Linked DNA regions of Homo sapiens: region 2 is linked to region 1. Evidence: promoter capture Hi-C in human tissues and cell types (Jung and others, 2019). All regions are on one chromosome and are shown on one strand. The core of a region is centred on a gene start or on the middle of the fragment in contact, and the rest is flanking DNA. Distances in the headings are between cores, read along the strand shown.

Region 1 (5,041 bases), core at 1,798-4,297:
GTCCGAGGCTCCTCCTGCAGATACAACACAGATGAGTGGAGAGATGCAAGGGGATAGGCGAGGGGACACTGAAGACATACTCAGAAAGCTCCCCGTGGCTGGGTGTGGGAGAAGCCTGGAGGAGGGTGACAGCAGCAGTTGGATTCCCATCCACCTTCCTGTGCTTACTACTAGCTGGTAAGTACAAGAAGCCAGCGAACCTCTTGCAGTTTCAGTTCCCTCATCTGTAAAATGGAGGTATCAGTGTCGTCAAGCCAAAGGCTGCCAGGAACCTGCCTGTAATTGAATGAGTTGGGATTATCACTCATTGCAGCGAGAGGGATGCAGATCATGGAGAACTGCAAGGCATCTCAGTAAGAGGTGTCGGGAAAAGTTACTAAAGGTTATGGGCTTGAGTTGGGTGATTTTTTTCATGGATTAGATGCTGTCAGGAATTGGGGGAGTGGATGGGGGGAAAGGGTGGTTCTCTGGGCATCTCAGTAGATGTTATCTGTGAGGAGGCCAGGGCAGAGGGAGGCTCAGCTGTAGCTGGTAGAGGAGCGGGGGTCATTGTTACTAACTTGGAGATGATATGTCTTAGATTTTGTGGGTGGCACAGTTACCCTGTTTTTGTTTGTGCTTAGACAAAATTATGACGTGGCCTTGGATCATGATGGTGCTCCTCTACAAAATTATTTATGTCCAACAGGAGACCCCATGGCCTCGATCTGAGTGCCAGGCCAGCTCCTGATGTCACGGTCCACTTTTCTTCTTGGAGGTCATACTAGTACCTATTTCATGGAAATAACCCATGTAGAGTGCTCAGTATATACCCTGTGAAGGGTTATGAATGCTGATGGTAGTGGAAGCTGATGTGGAGGGGAATGGTGGAGACACCTTGGAAAACCAAGCAAGAGTCTGAAGTTGTGGCAGGCCGGGTCTCACTAACGCAGGCCTCCATTACAGCTGTCCCAGCACGGACTGAGTAGCCAGGTTAAACATTAAAAGCTGATTGAGCCAATGCCCTTATACAAAGGTTGGAATGTAACAAAGAGCCCACCAAGAGTTTTGCCTAGGCTCTTCCTGGGCCTTGAAGCATGACAAGATAACGAAGGAACTCTTAACAGGACCCTTTTTAGGATTAAACAAGTTGTATTAGGGATCTGAAGAAACTCCCCAGGCCTCCACAAACAAGTTTATGGGGGTCTAAAGGAATTCCCCATATCATTATGATTTAGCAGGAGACAAGATAAGGGTAATCACCCCAGCACCTAGACCCATTTAGATTAAGTAAACTTACTGAGGCTCCAGAAGAGGGTCTTCAGGACTCAACCTTAGTCATAGATTAAAAGAAGTTAATCACTTATGTCTGTAGATGAATGCACACTTACATGTAGACATACAGCTTAGAAGGTATACGAGCTTTGGAAAACTTTGTAATTTTGAGTTGGTATGGTGATAATTTCCAGGCCTTCTCCTTGTAACCGGTTACAGAAATAAAACCTCTCTTACTCTCCAGCTCATTTGCATCTTGTTATTGGGCCAGGAGAAGTAGTAGCCCGACCCTCAGTTGGGTCCAGGAACAAAGGGAGTGTCTGAAGACAGCAGTGATGTGATCACCTGTTTTAGGAGGACCACTCGCCAGAGCCCAGGGGAATGGTGGGAGGGGTGGGGAGAGGTGAGGGGAGCTGGGACAGGGCAAGGAGGGATGTATGGAGGACGTGTCCCCTGGCAGTAGGAAGAGAGTCAAGGATGACTCCAGGGCTTCTGTAATTTGAAACAGTCACAAATAACCACAAGCTCTCAGGTGGAAGGACACTGAGAGCCCCATGAAGGTCATGAGGTGGTGGGCCACCTCAGGTCCGTGGATCCAGGACCATGGATCAACAAGAGAAGTGAGGTCTCCCTGGGACCACATAACGTGGTGAAGGCACCGGCCTTTGGTTTTCAAACTCTGCTCCTAAGTGGAGCTCCAGGGTCTGGGGAGGAATGCCGAGTTAGGAGGGAGGCGGGAACCGGAGACCCAGGCCCACTCGTCCGCCCCAGCGACGCTGGCACTTGCACATATGAGGCGGCTTGCATGGCTGTGCTTGAAGAAAGGGTTCTGCAGCTACAGCCTATCTGCAAAGCCCCACGCGAAGTTTGGGCAATGGGCTGTGTGAACCCAGAAAATGGGAGACAGGTCTCAGTTAATTTACAAAGTTTATTTTGCCAAGGGTGAGGACGCGCCCGTGACACAGCCTCAGGAAGTCCTGACATGTGCCCAAGGTGGTCGGGGCACAGCTTGGTTTTATACATTTAGGGAGACAGGATACATCCATCGATACATGTAAGAAGCACATCGGTTCGGTCTGGAAAGACGGGACAACTTGAAGCAAAGGCAGGAAGACTCCAAGCGGGGAGGGAGCGTCCAGGCCACAGATAGGTGAGACACCAACGGTTAAATTCTTTTGAGTTTCTCATTTGCCTTTTCAAAGGAGGCAAATCAGATATGTATCTATCTAAGTGAGCAGAGGAGTGACTTTGAATGGAATGGGAAGCAGGCCTGCCCTAAGCAGTTTCCTGCTGGAGTTTTCCTTAGTGATCTTGGGGGCCCAGGATATCTTCCTTTCACAGCTGATTTCACAAAGCCGGCTGGGTAGGAGGGCCCCAGGGCCGGGTGGCCGTCCGCGTGGCAGGGCGGGGGTCCCAGGGCGGCTGTGCTTGGTGCTGGGAGGCCGCCCGAGGGCAGCGCCGGCCCCGAGTCAGCAGCCGCAGGGCACCCTGGAGATGCGGAACGCCCCCAGCCGTGGGTCAGCAAAGGCGTCTCAGGTGACCCTTAGGGAGGGCTTCTGAGGCAGCCCGTGCGGGGTCCGTCCTGGCTGAGCACTGCGCGGACGGCGCGCCCGCGAGACTCGGACCCGGCCTAGGGCTCAGCGAGCTCTCAGCGGGGCGGGCGGACGCAGGCAGCCCAGGGGAGTGGGGCCCGCCCTGCGCCGCCATCACCCCTTTAAGTGCCAGGCCCGCGGCGCATGCGCAGTCAGGCCGTTGTGCGCAGGCGCAGAGGCGGCGGCGGCGGCGGCGGCGGCGGATGTTTACGGCGGCCGAGGTTGGAGCGGCGCTGCTCGGCCGCGGACACACGAGGGACGCGCCCGAGGAGCTGCAGGTGGCAGCCCAGGCGGTCCGAACCCGTCGGCCGGCCGAGCCTGGAGGTAGAGCCGCCGCCGCCGCCGCCGCCCCTCGGTCCGGCCTGCGGCGAGCGGGTGGTGTGTCCCCTCGGCCCCTTCCCTCCTCCTTCCCCACCCCCGGCACCCCTGCGCCCGGAGCTCTCCTCTGGGGGCGTCGCTCCTCCCCACCTCGGGCACCCTCACCTCCCCCCAGCGGCCTCCAGGGCGTCCCGCGTTTCTCTCTCCGAGCGCTCGCGGTTTCCCGTCGGTCTCTCCCGGTGCCCGTTGCTCACTCACACTCTTGGGTCTGGTTAGTCCAGACCTGCAGCTTGTCTTTGACTTCCCAAGTGGGAAACGTTTGCAGTTCCAAGGCAAGCCAAGAGCTAAGGTTTAGAACAAAGTCTGCCTTGGACCCTTTCAGAAGATGACAGGATTTTTTAAAAAAATAATTGCGCCCCCCCGCCCCGTGCCTTGGAGATAGTAAGAATTGGAGCAGAGCACTGGGACTTCAATTCACGCATGGAAAGAGATCTTTGTTAGTTGGAGGAAGGAGAACTTGCCTGAGCTTCGGGCCTTTGTTTTGTTTTTGTGAGAGGGACGTGTCTCCTAAATGAATGTTTGCTCCAGCGTTGCACCTCAAATAAGTCACCTAAATATCCACGCCCTCTTTATCCACCCCCTCTTTACTCGTGTGACTAGAATAGTTTTCATTTTTCTTCTCAAGGGAATGGCTAAACAGCTCCTATCTGGGCGTTTGATAGACTGTCATTCAAGAATGAGTGAAGTTGAGGTGCCTATAAGCAACTCAGAAATTGTTGTGGCCACGCTTGGGGGAAATAGAGCCCTACACTCAGGTGATGAGAGGAGACCTCAGAGGTGACCGATCCAGGGCCTTGCTCCCTGCGCCACCCCAGCTCGTACCTCCAGTGGAACTTGGCTGGGCTTATCAAGAGCTCCTTTCATTCATTGCAACTTCATTTGTTAGAAAGCTTCTCTGTGTATTTAGTAGGCATTGTCTCCAACATGTACCACTGGTCTGGCTTTTGTTAGGCCCATTAATAGTGTACATGTGACAGCCTTTCAAGTATAGGTGCTCCCCGGCTTACGGTGGGGTCGCATCCCAGTAAACACATCGTTAAACCTGAAGTCGAACCATCCGAAGTCGGAGACCATCTGTATTTGAAAAAAGTCCCTTTGCATTGCTTGTAAGAGTTCTGGTTTTCAAGGTGAGAAATCTGTTTGTGTGTTTGTTTGATCATTCTGCCCAAAGGAGATGTGGCTTTGGGTCCTTTTCCCCACTCATCTTCCACAATGAATTACTTTGTCCATATTACCCTAAAGAAGTGACATCCAAGTTGGAATGTGATCTTCCGTATGTCGCCTCCCAAAACCCCACTACCATAGCTTCATGCTTGTGTTGACACAGCCACAATCACAACTCAGGTGTCAGTTCTGAGACCTTCCCATGCCTGTCGCCACTCAGCAAGTGTTCTTCATGTGCCCTGGCAGTTCGCATTGTAAGGAGCAGCCAGGTTGTTATGGACTGTTGCTAGTTACCACAGAGTAGTGAATTATATTAAGGATTAATTACAGCAGACAATGTGCACAGTATCATCGAGTGCAGCGTTCTAAAAATGATTCTACACTTTTACTTTGAAAAATTGGATTTGACCAGATTGTAGAATCTGGGTGAAAATGATAGGATTTGGTTTGGCGAAGAGCTTTGTTGTCGGTGTTTTTGGTGACATCATGACTGATCATATCGATGGTTTTCAGTGCGAGGGAGTGTTAGATTACCAGACAAAGATGGTAATAAATATCAGACCCCACAGCTATTCACATGGATCCTACCAGTGGCAATAGGTATAGATAGGGTTACCCCATCGTCAAAAGGTTACCGGTGTGTTGTGTGGTAA
Region 2 (5,041 bases), core at 807-3,306, 95 kb before region 1:
GCTTCCTCCTGCTTCTCCTGCACGCTCACCAGCCTCTGAGCACCTTCACCCCTCGATGTTCTCTCCTCTAAACAAGATGACTCACCATTTATTTCCAGCCTAATCTCTGCCCCCAGCCTCAGCCTCCATACTGTCACCCTTGTTGACGGTGTCACCTGGTGACTAACAGGCGCTCAGACATCCCAGCAGAGCCAGCAACTCCCACAAATCTGCCCTCCTTCAGCGTCTCCCTCTCAGGGGGTGCTGCCGCCCACCTCATGGCTCTGGCCAGCCCTGGAGTCTCCTGTGGCCTCTCTGTCCCTACCACATCCAGACCCTCAGCAACCCGATTCATTCCTGAGGGGGTGTCCCAACTCGAATGCAATTCGTCACTTCTCTTGGGACACCCTTTACCGTCTATTGCCGCCCAGTAGCACTCACCATAGACCTCACTGAAGATGTAAATGTTAAACATTTTGCTCTTGGTCACCCAGCTGGGAGGGGCCGGTCAGGGGTCAGTCCAGATCTGCCTCCTCCAAAGGTTTGAACCCTCCATACTCCGGGCCTCCCCCTCAGTGCTGCCCTGGATGGGAGAGACTAGCCTGGACTTGGCCACGTGTTGGTAGAGGTAAGCCAGCATCACCTGGGCCTCCACCTGTCCCCTGCAGGGACAGACACCTGCAGAACCTGAGGACCAGGAGGTGACCCTGAGCTGCCTGGGGTGATGGGAGCTTCCCTCGGCATCAGGGGAAGCTGGCCCAGAGGACAGCCGGGCTCCATGGTGAGGCCAAGTTCATCGTTTCAAAGGGCCCCTGTGGGCAGTGAAAGGTCGTGGGCCCAGTTCGAGGGACTAGGAATCATTCTGGAAGAGGCCTCTGCAGTGCCCACCTTCACTCCCATCCACACACCCTGCCCCTCCCTGGCCCTGGCGCGGCTGTAGCTGCTGGAAGGTCCAGGTCCTTCTGGGCAGCCCTCTCTCCCTGCCCTTTCCTTCCTGCACACCCCACCCTCTGCCTGCAGGGCCTGAGGTTGTCGAGGGATTCTTGACTTCTACAGTTTGCCTCCCCCTGGCACCTCCCACCATACCTTGTGCCTGGGATCTGGTGGTGGGGAGTCAACCACACCAGCTGAGGGCCCTCAGGGGCCTTGTCTCAACAGGCAGTGATTGGGTTGTAGGGAGCGAGACCTGACCCCACTCATGCATCCTGGCTGGTTCCCCACCAGGTTTCAGGCTGGACCTAGTGTGGCAGTTCCGAGAGAGGAAGCGGGGGAAGGGATGCATCTTCAGGAAGGGCCCCCTCCCCTCACTCACTGTGAGTCCATTACTGTGTGGGAAGGGCTGTGTCTCTGCCTCCCCTCACTCCCCTTCCCTGGCCCTGCGGGGTGGGGGAGAGATTGTCTGGGGCCTGAGCCCATTGTGTGGAGAAGAGAGCCTCATTGGCAGGCAGCCGGGGCATCAATTTGTGATTATCTGCTCCCTGGTCTTGATTGGCTGGATGCAGTGGGGTCTCCCCAGGGCCCTGGGACACAAGTTTGTGCAGCAACTTTTTCCAGCATGAAGTGACGTGTGTTCCCAGAGAGAAGGTGCACCCCCTGGCCAGGATGACGCTCTGCGGGACCTTCCTGGGTGCGTACCACCCCCAGCCCCTCGCGTCCCTCCCTGGTCTGTTCACAAGTTTCTGCGAAGATGCCAAAGGGACTAATTAGCTGTGTGTGTCCCCCCCTCAGAGCTCAGTGCTCTTTTCTGGGCAGCCAAGGAGGTGACAGACATGCTCCCTCCTGAACAATGGCCAGGGCCCCTGGGGAAACAGCCACCTCCCCTTCTAGCGGATCCCGTGGCTTGCAGAAGTGCTGACGGCACAGAGCCCTGTGAACGCTGCCCTGCAGAAGGTTGGAGGTGGGAGGGCGGTGGGCAGGGTGTGTGCAGAGGCCAGCTGGGCCTTCTTTCTGTTGATTTACCTGCCTGGATCTGCCTGGCAGGCCATATAGCTGGTGGGTGTCAGGAGCCCTTGGCCTGGAGCAAGGCTCTGTGAGACTCTGTGAGAAGGTGGCAGAGAGAATGTGTGTGCGCGCGCGCGTGCGCGCGACAGATGTCCCCTGGGACTTAACTGTAGCTAAGGGGCTTTGGCCAGGGCCGCTGCTGCTTGCGTCCTCATCACACTCAAAGTTGCTGTGTGTGTGAGTGCACGTGTGTGAGTGTGCATATGTATGTGAGGGTCTCACAAACTGGATGCCAAATGTTTGTGAGCGTCTGCGTGAGTGTGAGACAGAAACACAAAGTCAGCCCCGAGTGTGGCGGAGAGTGGATCCCGGTTTTGTTTGCTCCATCTGCCAGGGCCGGCCTGGGGCAGCACCCCCGCCCTCAGCTGTTCTATACAATATTAATGCTCACCATCTCGGCCTCACACAACGGCCCTAATTGTCGTCTGCAGCATTAAGGCAGGCGCCCATCTGCGGGGAAGCTTTCAGAAGGAAACAAGAAAACCCTCACCCCCAGCTGGTCACCGGAGAAGGTGGTGCCAATTACAGATGCAGAAAGTTTAGACCAAAATTACTTGAAAGAGTTTTTATGAAGCAAATGAACTGACACTTGGAATGTCTGTGTGCAGATTTGCACAAGTAATTACACTTTATTTGAAATGATCTTACCAGCTAAGCGATCATTAAGCCTGCTCCCCCACTCACACAAAGCGCTTTCTCAGCGAGTGCGGCTGCGGCGTAAGTTTGGTTTTGCAAATCTCCCGTTTCCCTCCCCGTGTGGAGTCTGAGGACCCGCCAGTCAGACAGGAGTTATTTCCTGGTGGATCTTTCCAAACATATTATTAAAAAGTCACATGTGACTTTCCCACAGACTTTTATGAAATAAAACCCAAAGGAACAGCGTGCAACATGCTCAGTTATGGAAGAGAAAATATTTTATGATTTCAAAAAGTCCTGACAAATTTTCACCCTCTCTAAGAAAGGAAGCTTAAGACTATACCTTGCTGTTGTCACTTACAAGCAGGGATCTGTTGGGGTTTGGAATTCTCTGTCTCAGCCCGGAGCCCAGAGTTCAGCGATAGCTGAATACTGGTGCGAGCTCAGAAGCTTCCGTGTGCGGAGAACAAAGACTGAGGCGCTCTGGGGGGAGAGCGCTGTCCGAAGTGCTGATCAGACTTCGGATCCACCCACCGCTCAGGCCGCCTCCCAGGGGCTGAAGGGCGGCAGCCGAACCGGAGAGACGTGCCGGCGGCCGCTCTTCTGTCCTGCTCTTTTCCCTGGACTCCTTTGTCTTGACGGGGTCAGCTAAAGACTTCGAACCTTTACTCATCAAAGCTCATCTTCGGAAACTGCTCATAGCACTTTAACCTCCCGGTGGGAGCTCCCAGGGCGCCCTAGGTCCTGCCAGCAGGCACCGATTTCAAGTTTCCAGGCACATTCTGAATGCTCCTCCTGGCAGCGCCACAGAGGGTCTGGGGGCCCATTCCCGACCCCCGGAGCGCCACACCTCAGGAGGCCTGTGATTGTTCAAAAGGGGAAGTGAGAAATGCCGAAAGACTTACGTTTTCACAAATACAATTTCTATTACCTGAAAAAACTGTTGTGCCCCACGAAGCCCGTGTTGCGCAGGTTCATCTCTCCTGCTGCCACCTCCGCTTCGCTGTGGTTTCTTAGGTGTGACTGTTGCATATCTGAATTAAGTCGCTTTCATGAAACCTTGGGTGTCGTTGGGAAATAAGGCTGATTCAGCAACGGCCCTCCCTTTGATTCTGTATTCATCATGGAACAATGGCCCGCAAGCCTGCCCGGAGCCTGCAGCCTGCCGATAAGAGTTTAATAGAATTTCTGAATGCCGAAGGTTTGGGGTGTAAGACATCCTAGCACTCACAGCATGTCCAGAGGAGACAGAAACGGCTTTTCAGGAGTGCTCTCAGCTGAATGTGTCCTTTTATACTAATGGATATAAGTTTATGACAGAAATTAAAAATGGTAGGCAGTCATTGTGGAAACCTCGAACTGTTCTCATTTGACTAATTAATATTTCATCCTCAGTTTGACCAGTGCAGGCTTGCATTTATGTCCTTGTGCTCAATCTGAACAATTGCTCTGTGTGCATTTTGTGTTTTATTTGTTGAGGATAATGTGTGCGTATAAGAATCTAAGATACTTGCCTTTGGGGTGAAGCTTTTGGTTTGTATGTAACGTGTAAAGCACAAACTGTATGTTAAAAATAAGCCACTAAGATTTTCAAAACATGCTCTCTTAGAGAAAGCTGTGTTCAGTTCTGCCTCAGTCACACTTTTGGTGGCCCGAGCCCTTTAGCGCTAATTAAGTTGGGGTATTGTGCTCTTGCATAATTTACCAAGAAATGATGTTTACTGTCTGTTGAAATCTCTGCACTGAACTTCTGAGATGTGAGTTTTCTGCTTCTCCAGCTGCCCTTGGACGGCGGCATCTTTGCAGGCGTCTCACATTGAGTTTTCACCCTTGTGTTTCACAGTTTCATTTCTAACATCCTGATTATGATAATGGACAATCGTTTGCCTGATTTATCAGTACAAGAAGGAGATTTGGGCCGCAAACAAGAATACTCTGGCTCTTGAGTTCTCTTACTGAAGAAATTCCCACTTTATCCCTGAATGTGGGGGAAAATATCACAAACTGGCAGATGAGAAGGCAGACAGTCAGGCTGCATAGAGAGTGGGTGAGCACTTCTATTGTGTGTGTTATGGATTTTTCTCTTCTTGATTTTCACTGGATAGCTCCTTTCAGGCCGTTTATAAAAGAATCAGGAAAAGAGCAGAAAACTTGGGCAGTGTGCTTCGCTCTGGTTGCAATAAACTTAGTCTTTTTGTGGGGGGGTTCCCATGCCCAGGAATCCCTGAGTTCTCTTTGGGAAGGTTTTTATTATTGTAAAAATTAAAGTGAAAAGGGAAAGTGTGAGAACAGAAAAATGTCTTTTCCTGATCTATTCTTTGTGTGCATGACTCTATTTTTTGGTCTGTGGCTATAGTTACCTTTTATGCCGTTAAAAAATACATATCCATTTAAGTCAGGGGTACTTGAATATGCAGATGAGCCG

The links. Contacts are between HindIII fragments. The study calls those that stand out against the background at their distance.
Region 2: a fragment that was not itself captured here is called in contact with the fragment with the promoter of PCMTD2 in region 1 in 9 of the 25 tissues and cell types used here (H1 embryonic stem cells, IMR-90 fibroblasts, dorsolateral prefrontal cortex and 6 more).

What each region holds. Positions count from the first base shown.
Region 1 is chr20:64,252,701-64,257,741 of GRCh38, forward strand. PCMTD2 (protein-L-isoaspartate (D-aspartate) O-methyltransferase domain containing 2) reads left to right here and starts at 3,048. Exons shown (of 6, transcript NM_018257.3): 1 at 3,048-3,170. The HindIII fragment of the contact is 11,329 bases long and covers 1-5,041 here.
Region 2 is chr20:64,158,949-64,163,989 of GRCh38, forward strand. No RefSeq gene overlaps it. Among named protein-coding and RNA genes, the nearest start is that of MYT1, 3.0 kb to the right of the region's middle. RefSeq lists enhancers at 1-471, 2,382-3,862. The HindIII fragment of the contact is 3,096 bases long and covers 509-3,604 here.